Linked DNA regions of Homo sapiens: region 1 is linked to region 2. The links are contacts of gene promoters, found by promoter capture Hi-C in human tissues and cell types (Jung and others, 2019). All regions are on one chromosome and are shown on one strand. The core of a region is centred on a gene start or on the middle of the fragment in contact, and the rest is flanking DNA. Distances in the headings are between cores, read along the strand shown. Region 1 overlaps GRM3 (glutamate metabotropic receptor 3). Region 2 holds the start of DMTF1 (cyclin D binding myb like transcription factor 1).

Evidence for each region. The method cuts DNA at HindIII sites, captures the fragments that hold promoters and counts their contacts. A contact is called where the count stands out against the background at its distance.
Region 1: a fragment that was not itself captured here is called in contact with the fragment with the promoter of DMTF1 in region 2 in 1 of the 25 tissues and cell types used here (dorsolateral prefrontal cortex).

Annotation. Positions count from the first base shown.
Region 1 is chr7:86,847,729-86,852,522 of GRCh38, reverse strand. It overlaps GRM3 (glutamate metabotropic receptor 3), which reads right to left. Exons shown (of 6, transcript NM_000840.3): 5 at 1,979-2,153. Among named protein-coding and RNA genes, the nearest start is that of GRM3-AS1, 47 kb to the right of the region's middle. The HindIII fragment of the contact is 6,842 bases long and covers 1-4,794 here.
Region 2 is chr7:87,150,300-87,155,122 of GRCh38, reverse strand. It overlaps DMTF1 (cyclin D binding myb like transcription factor 1), which reads right to left and starts at 2,670. Exons shown (of 18, transcript NM_001142327.2): 1 at 2,568-2,670. It overlaps DMTF1-AS1 (DMTF1 antisense RNA 1), which reads left to right and starts at 2,630. Exons shown (of 2, transcript NR_136253.1): 1 at 2,630-2,821; 2 at 3,465-3,700. RefSeq lists enhancers at 2,475-3,036, 2,882-3,121, 3,037-3,600. The HindIII fragment of the contact is 5,091 bases long and covers 628-4,823 here.

The DNA of each region.
Region 1 (4,794 bases), core at 222-2,721, 300 kb after region 2:
GATTAGCATACTGAATAATAGTTTAACAGGTCTGCTGTGGTTGCAGTACATTGTTTTTATGTAGATGGATATTTCTGAATTTCTAACAAGAGACTTGATTGGAGAAAGTGCCCTTGCTATCCCTTCTGGAATTTGTTAATTCCCAGCATATGCATTAGAAAATTCTGCCATTTCTAAATTACTGAGGTCTGGATATACGCAATTTTGAATAACGTCTATGGAAGACTTATGGACTCTGCTAAATTGTTCTAATAACAAGCAAAAGTTCTGAGCTAGCAATGAGACAATTTTGCTTGGATAACCTTCTTTTTATTCTCTCTGCAAAGCCTGGCCATGAGAACTTTCCCAGCTTGCTGTCTGGAAGAGGCTGCACGATACAGTAGTTAGGTGCACTGGCTTTGAAATCATAGGAACTGACTCTAAATTCTGTTTCTGCCATTTTTAAAGTGTGTGACCCTGGGTGAGTTTCTTTACCTTAAGGGGTTGGAGCATTGAATAAGACAGCACACACATACACACATGTGTGTAAAGTATTTAGCATGGTGCCCAGCATATGAAAAACACTCAACAAATGAAAGTTCCTGTTACCTGTTGTTAATATTTTTATTAGTTATTGACAGTTCTCTCTGGGCTGGACTAGGTAGCTGTTAAGATTAGTCTGCTAAAAAGAGCTTTGTTTGCTCAAGAAATCAACATATTTCTCTAAGATCCATGGAAAACGACCTCACAGGCTTTGCCATGCCCTGAAGCTCAACTTTTGTGACACGTTGGAGTTTAGCTGGAAAGACAGGAATGTGCAGCCTATCCATGAACATGTGCTCTCAGACTGTCAGTCTTCCTTCAGTTTCCTGGGGGAAGGGCTGCCCTGTTAAATTCTGTACTTTGGTAGAGAAATTGGGGCGCTAATGTGATTGCTGACCCTGTGATGCTGAGCTATTTTGAAGTATCCTTTCTGATCAACTCGAGGCAAAATTGTGAAGCAGTCATTTGTCTCTGTCACTTTCTGTCCTCCCTTCCCCTCTCATGGTTCCAGTTCTTTTCTTCCCCCTCATCCAGTGTCAGTGAATTGCTTCTACTTCATACCACAATTTAGCTGAAAATGGCTTAAAAGGTTATCCCCTTCAGGCACATTTGTGCTTTAGAGAACTCTAAAGAATTAAATCAATGATTCTCTAAGGATAGTGTTTCAGACATTTGCAGGCCAGTAGCAGAGAGAATTAGGGACTGGGAACTATCCTAGTATCCTTCAGTTCACACTGCCTTCTAAGCTGAGAAAACATTGTGTCATTGAAGTAGGAGGAAGATCTATTCCAGCATTTTCCAAGGTGTGTTCCACGGGATGTTAGTTTTACTGTGATAAAATATTTTTAAAAGTATTTTAACTTTTAACAAAGTTAAACAGGTTTTCTTGCATAGAGATTCTCAAAACCTATAACACACTCATGTTAAAGGAAGTACTGTAAACTTCCAAGGGGGAATTAGGAATGTAGCACTTTTCATTGTATTTTATTATCTTCCCCTTTTAATTTTTCATGAAGCTCCTTTGGCATCTGTGTGACATATAATATATTTTATAAAACACCAATCTAGCCCAGTCCCCTATTTTAATTAGTAAAATGAGGCAGAAAGCAATAGAGTGACTTGTTTGAAGTTATCTATTAAATTGAGTGCAGAACAGGACGAGAGACCAGGTTATCTAACCCCACAACATGGTCAAACCCCTCACTGCAGCTATGTATTTAATGTCTTTGTTCCCTGCTAGACTGTATGTGCTGCCCAAACAGAAACTTTGACTTCTTTGCTCCTTACTGAATCCCCAGCACTTAGCACAATACCTGACTCACAGTGTTTAAATCCATACTTAGTAAAATCGAATTGAGATTGTTCATGGGGACAGACATGTGTTGCCTGTTCTTGGCAGGCTGGTCCTGACTACAATGCTATGTATGAAGGAGTTAGTGCTGAGTTCCATACTTACACTGAGAGTATGTGGTCCCAGTTCCACTGACACTGAACCTGTTGAGGTGCAGTCTGTGTGTGACAACATTCTTCTGGGGTTGAAACAGGATGATGTGAACCTTGGGTGCAAACAAACAGCCCAAGACCACAAAGCCACTCAGGCTGACAGAGATGCACATGGTTGTCGTCTGCACCTACAAGAGAAGGTTGGCTAGTAAGTGTCTGGCTGTACATTCAGTCAAGTGGCCAACTAAAGAGAGTGCTGAAATAAGACCAAAATGAAAAATCCAGAATAATTGACAGCTCTGTCCTTATTGTAGCCAAATCAATACAGTAATTATATTGAATCTTCTATGTTTGGGGTAGTCTTGGAAATATTGCTTAGGATTTGCAAGCAAACACCATTTGTGTGGGGTGCTTCTGAATGCTTGCCAAGACTTCACATGGATTTTCTTGTTTGTTTTCTTTATATTTTTATAAAGATATTTCTGCAAAGCCACAGAAGGTGGAATCTTAAATAGTAAAACATATTCAATGATGAAGTGGCCAGATTGCTGATGATTTCAGTCTATGAACTTGGCTTCTTTAAGATTTAAGGTTATTATAAACAAATTTGTTTTGTTTGTTTGTTTGTTTGTTTTTTACATTCTTCTATCTCCCTTGCTTGCTGGAAGCTCTGCCTATCAGCTACTGGTTTCCCTATTCTTTGTTGGGGATCACTGTCAGCTTTCTTCTGTGGTACCTTTGCTTTTGCTTATTGGCATCTCTGGAATTTTGATTCATCAGGTACTAACTGTTCAATCTTCATGTTCTCTAGGCTTCTATACACCCATTCTTGACAGGTAATTTTCACTTCTCCCTCTTTGTTTACCCTGAAAGTTCCTCAGAACCAGGGTTTATCATGTCTTCTCATTCTCATCCCAGAGTAACTTTAGATTTTTTTCCTTTCCCCTTAGGCACATGCTATTATAAAGTAGCATAATTTCAAATGTCCTAAATGACTTTAGGCATCTATAAAACATTTCTGTAAAGTCTCTGACCTTCCTCTCTAATCAAGGAAAGCTGAAGACTGAACACATAACTGGAGAAGCCACATAATTTTAGAATGCTTCATTTTACTTTTGATTTTTAAAAAAAATTCAGCCTGCCCTGTGGCATAATTCTTTAGGCCTTGCTTACTTTGAATCCTGAAAGCATAATCCATCCTCGTCATTTTAAAGTTCTTGTCTCTCTTAACTAGTCCAGTGCTCTCCACCTTGGGACCCCTAATTGCAGGCTCCTTTCTTGTCAAATTCTCAGAAAACAAGCTGCTATCTGATTCTGTGATGCAAAAGCCTTCATAAATCTGAATCTGGGACAATTTGTTTTCTACGTATATGTATAATATGATGTTAGCATTGTCCTCTTTCTGCCTCAGTTCCTGCCTATGACTCTGAAGCCAGTGTGAAGGATATCAGAGATCATGGGAGGGGGAGACAAATCCAAATTTGCAAAATTTCCAGGAAACCTTTTCTAAAAGCATTTCTGTAACTCTTAAAACTACTCACACACTTTAAGACATTACAAGAAGAGGTGAGGAGAGGCTTTTAGGAGGAGGGGATCTTGGGCAAAGCTGTACTGTGATTTTTGTCTCCTCGCTGAAAGCCTAGCAAGGAGTGCTTCAGTGTGGCCATTTACAAAAAGTCAGGTGTTTCTGCAGGAAGAGGATGCCCTGAATTGGGACCTGATTCCTGCCTTGGAAATCTAGAAGGTGAGGAAAAGGCTAGTTGCTCTATTGGCATTGCATAAAACTTGCTACTGTCTTGAGGTAGTCCTTTGTTCTGAGAATTTATCAAAGCAAAGGTTATGTGAATGGTATGCATGGACAAGATGGGCCACACAAAAACCATTATGCATGGTCTTGGGCTTATGTCTTGGCCTGGAGACCTTCACAGAAAGAGGCTTGGGGTAGGATAGCTGGATGCCCTGAGAATGGGAATGGAGCCACCAGAGACAAATCAAAATAGAGATCTCCCAGTCAACTCACTCAAGGTCCTGCAGGGGAAAAGGCCAGAGGGTAATTTCTAAAGATCACATGAAAGATGAAAACGCCCTCTAGTCATCTTCCAGGCATCTGAAGGATGTATCTTTCCATGTGTGGACTTAGAGATCATAAAGTCATCTAGCCACAAAGAACTGTCCAACTGCTTCCTTATTACTCTTTAATCAGCGCTGAGAGGGAAGTAGCAACTGGTGGATTGGGGAACATAAGCACCAAGGAAGATGCCAACTACTGCAGGCTCTCAGCCTAAGACAGGCCAGACCTCAGGAGGAAATGAGATTGAATGTGAAGACACAGTTTTGATCATTACATAGGACTATATATTTTAATTTCTTAATAAAGACAATTTTCAATTGAAAATGATGGTAGTACCTTATGTTACCTAAAAGCATATAAATTCATGGGCCTACCAAGGTCATGGATGTTTTTTCTCATTGTGCTATCCCCAGCACCAGAACTGAGCCTCACATGTAGTGAACATTTGGTGTTTGAATACGTGCACAGGAATTTCCATCCCAAGGTGGGGGATGATTACCCTTGCTAAATACTGAAGAGATAATGGAAGGAGCACTAAAATTGCATTTTTATCATAGTTTGTGCACCATGTTTATTCAGTATACCTGTTATAAAATTGAAATAGCTTTTATTTATTACAAAGCCCAAATATCAGTCTCATAGTTTCAGTTATCCAGTTCCTTCAGTAAGTCACACTATTAAAAGTCTGTTTTTATCTGTAATTCTGTGTTCTGACCCTTTGAATACTACCAGCTTACGATGCTCTGTTTTCATCTTTG
Region 2 (4,823 bases), core at 1,421-3,920:
ATCCTTAGGAATACTTGTTTCACATTATCCCATTCATCCTCACAGGTGTTAATTTAAGCCAATGCACTTAATGAAGCATGGCAAAGGCAACTGTTTAAAATAATGAGATGTTATTTTCAGGACATGTAAGTTTATTACACCATTAATAAAAATTAGAGTCTGTAGATTTTGGAGAGATAAATGAGGCTAATAGAAAGGTAAGATTTTTTGCGGAGGAGGTAAAGGCAAGTTTTTTGTTGTTATTTAAATACTAACCAGTGATATCAAACTAACCTTATAAAATACATACACTATCTCCCCACCTTTAAAGCACCCCTGGGGTGTAATGAGATAACTAAAGGATTGAAAAAAGAGATCTCTAAAAAAAGGACTAGAGGACAGCTATCTACTTTTGATATGAGTCTCCACCAGTAAACATTTCCCAACCATGCTGTTTTCAAAGCTCAAGTCATAACGCCCAAACTTTGATTTCTTCCCCTCAAAATACTTCTAAAACCTGAACACTCAGAAAAATGTTTACATAAAATAATGTATTCATATAACTGCAACGTATGAACTTAAAGTTCTAAGAAAGATGCAATGCCCAGTACTTACTGATTAAATGTTGATGAAGACAGGGCAATAGCATTTTGGCTCCACCATTAGCTCAACTGCAACCAATTAAAGAGATTCACGCAGAATATGCAGGTGCTAAATCAGTCCCCAAAAGCATATTTTGGGGTGAGCCTATCAACTAAAATAGTAAGAAAAAAAATTAGCTTGTTTGGTGGCATACAGAAGCACCTAGTATCGAGAGTTAAAATGAGATAAAAATCACCACAATCATGAAATGTATTTTTCACACCTGTAACATAATGGTTTTTTCCAGATACAATCAGGCTGGTTTTTGTGCTTTCTGTATGGAAGAAAAAAATTATTCTCACACCAAATTGGATTCTCTCAGCATGACAATTTTTGTAACGTTAAGGAATGTAGCTTTAACCTTTTTTCTCTAAATCTTAACAGAATTTCTAAATCCTAACCAAATACATGAAATCCTGTCTCTAAGTACACCATAAGAGCAAAAAGATAAGATTTTGGTGTATCGCCATAGTCATTCTTTAAATGTTAAAGTGATGGCAAATTATTCAAGTTATTAAAAGACAGTAATCCTCAGAAAGCTATTTGAAATATAATTTCAAAACCAGCTTAAAGAAATTTGAAGTAATGAAAAAACATGAAAACCCTTAACTGAAAAAAACAGATTTTGCAATACTTTCAACATAGTGGAAGAATATTTTCGTATTTGGAGCTTAAAAGCTACAAATGGTTTTCTCCCACGAATTAAAAATACAGGTATAATTTAAAATTTTCCAAATGGCGTCACTTTAAGCTTAAGACATGTCATATTAAAAAATAATTCCACAGAATATGCATTTTGTAGGACGTCCCAACATGCAGCCTCGACTGTCAGAAAGGAGGCACACATAATCAAATCCATGTACATTAAAAAGAGGTACACAAAGATGAATGAGTTGCGAAAAAAGCAACTACACAAATTCAATGAGAGAAAGGGAGGAGTCCTGACTCATACTGTATACTATTATCCTTTTCCTTATCTACACCGAGTATTTTATATAAAGACATATGCTCTATCATTCAATTGCACAAAAGGGCACTTGGCCACTTCTACTCTCAAATCTGCTCTGGAGATTGTGGTAAAACATTCTACATACCTCCCTGAAGAAATTCTCAAAGCGAAGTACATTTTAGAGAACAAAGTGGACTTAACAATTTTAAGAACTTTCTCGGAACTCGGCACAATAGGGTAATTACAACTTTACAGCCGCATTTTCCGTGCTCCACCAGGACTGTCCCCGCGCCCCAGCCCACATCCCTTCTTTAAAGAGAGTCAGACTGAGAGAGACGGTTCGGCCAGCTATCCCGATTCTCTATGTCTGGGCCGTGAATCGCCGAGCAAGGCTGAACCCCCGCAAAATTACAGAAGAATCTAAAGCGCAAACGAGGGAAAAGAACAAAAAAGCAAAGGGGGGGAAGTTGGGTCGAGACCCACCCCCACTCTCTCGACCCCACCCAAGCCTACCTCTCCTACGCTGGACCATAAAACAAAACCGAAAACGTAACAAAAATAAAAACTAAAAATAGAACACCACGAGAAAACAAGTAGGGCTTCCTTACTGTCTCCACTCCTTCTGGCCCAGTTCTCTACTCAACCTCCCGGCCCACCCCACCCCCCAGGGGTCCCGGCGCCATTTAGCTCCTCCGAAGCCGCCGCCATTTTCCGCCCCCGCCGGATCGCCGCTGTGCCTCGGCAGCCGCTCGCTTCCCTACTCTGCAGCCTGAGCCACGGGCACCGCCCGGCCCTAAGAGGGAGGCCCTGGCCGGAACGTGCGGGGACGGCAGCTGCAACGTCAGGAAGGCCAGGCTCCGACCCCGCCCGCAGTGCCCCGGCGCCGACAGCTTGCGCCAGCCGGCGGGAGCTAGCGGGCAGCAAGGGGGCCGGACAGGCTCCACTGGGCGGAGCGGCCCTGGCGGCGGTTGGAACCTGAAGGTTCCATCGCACTTACTTCCTGTTTTGGGTCCGGGCACTTTGGAAGAACCAGGATGGAAGCTCCAAAAAATACCAGGATGGAGGAAGCAGCCACGGGCGAGAGTGGCTGCAGCTGGAGTGAGCGAGCGCGACGAGCCACCGGAAACGGAGCTGCGGCCGCGCCCCGCCCCCAGCTCCCCGCACGCTGCCCCTCCCGCTCGTCTGTCCCGCTGGCGGCCCAGCGTGCTGGCTGTACGCGTCACTTCCGGCTGTGTCGGCGCGCGAAAAAAGGTCCTGGGTTGGAATGTTTGTACTGGTCTGTGGCGGTGGTTGTCGGCTGTCCTGCCAGGAAAACTCGGCACTGACTATCCCACTGCTGATGCTGTAAAAGAGGTCCTTCTGCTATGACGCAACTGTGGTTCCTCTGGTTCTGGGGACACTTAGGCCTCGCGTGCCGATTTTCATAGTTCCCTGTGGCTCCGAGCCGAGGGAGCCGCGGTGTGGAACGGAGGGAACCAGTGATCTCAGTGCTGAAGAAAACAGGGAGTGTGTGTCTTCATACTTGATTTGCCTTACCGCAGGGGCATAATATGAGATATCTGGGCGTGTTAAGTCGTTCTTGATGAAATGTGTCCTCTGTGAATGTAGTCTCACTGTTAGACTAGGAAGATGCTGTTTTGCTGTGCCCAGTTCCTCTTAAAAGTACAGATGCTCCTTGGGTTGCAGCCGTATAAACCCATCCTAAATAGAAAACGCGTTTTAATACCCTTATAAACGAAAAGGATAAATAAGCCTTTGGGTTCTGTAATGTGAGCCAGCATTCTTTGAGTGCGTATGTGACAGGTAAATGTTTTACGTATATTAAACTCATTTAATGTTCATAAGTTCTAAGTGCATCGCTACAATTATTACAAATGAATCCCATTTTACACAGGAACCAAAGAGAAGTGAAGGAATGTGTCCAAGGGCTCCCAAGTTGGCGGTGGAATTAGAATTGAAGCCTCAGCTCCAAAGCCTGTGTTCTGAACTACCCGGTTGCAGTTCACAAAATACACTTTGGCAGTACTTTCATAACGAAAACAAATGATTACAACCAGTTTACAAATGCTTTGCTTTACTGGAGGATCGACATGTTTGACTAATTTTCAAAAATAAATCTCAGAAGCAGCATTTTCTTGTGTTGATAACTTTATTACTAATTTGTGGCACTCTGCATTCTGTTGGAGTTAAGCCGTGTATCATTCCATTTTTTAATAAGTACATAATAATGTTTATGTAAGCAAAACTATGAGGCAGAATAGTATCGTGGTATGGACTCAGGCAGTCAGACCTGAGTGTGAATCTTGGCTCCATTTCTTAGTAGTGGATATGGCACTTCACCTCTTTTAGCTTTGTTTACTTTAGGAGTAATAAGATGTACCTTCCAGAATATTGTAGACAGCGTAGTTTGCATGGAATCTGACGTGTATTAAGCATTAAAAATGGTAACTAATAAACCTTAAAGCCAGGAAAGCAATACAACTACTCAAAGAGCAGTTCTAATAAAATAATAATTACATATGCAAAATTGTTGACATTAACATTGATAAGGTGGTTCCTAATGAGCCATATTTTTCATAAGACATAACCATATAGGATTATTTTTGCTAAGGCACAAAATAGTGATATATAAATTATAGTCGGGCTATCCATTCTCCTCTGCTAAATTTTAGGTCAGCCTGCACGCTGCTAACTCCCCGCAAAAAGTCAAGTGCATCCTCATAACTAAATTCTCCCTTTCTGGTTGAGTTTCTTTTATAACTACCTTTTCCCAAGTCAATTGGTATTTATTTGGGGATGACAAATGTATTTTAATATTAGCTTAATGCATAATTTAAAAAAATATAATAACGTCTCTATCCCTTTAGCTTGAATAATCAATGTAAAGACTATCCATAACACAACTTGATTCCTAGAGCAATTTTCTGCAGTTATACTTCTATGTTATCCGTACCTCATTATTTAGTCAATGTGTACCTAGGGAATGGATGAGGTTTTAAATATTATCCAAGGATTTACCTATTTAGGAATTAAATGTTTTGTAGAAAAATCATTAGAAGTATTTCTATCCTAAACAATAATTATTAAAGTATTTATAGCTTAGCTATGGTATTTACTGCATTTGCTAGTTAAAATTGACTTTGTTGGACTCCAGGTGTCTATAACACTTTTGTGAACCTCATCAGTGATTGATGATGAAATTGCCTTTTATGACAGGTTGATATATTAATATAAAGTATTTCAAATACTGAGA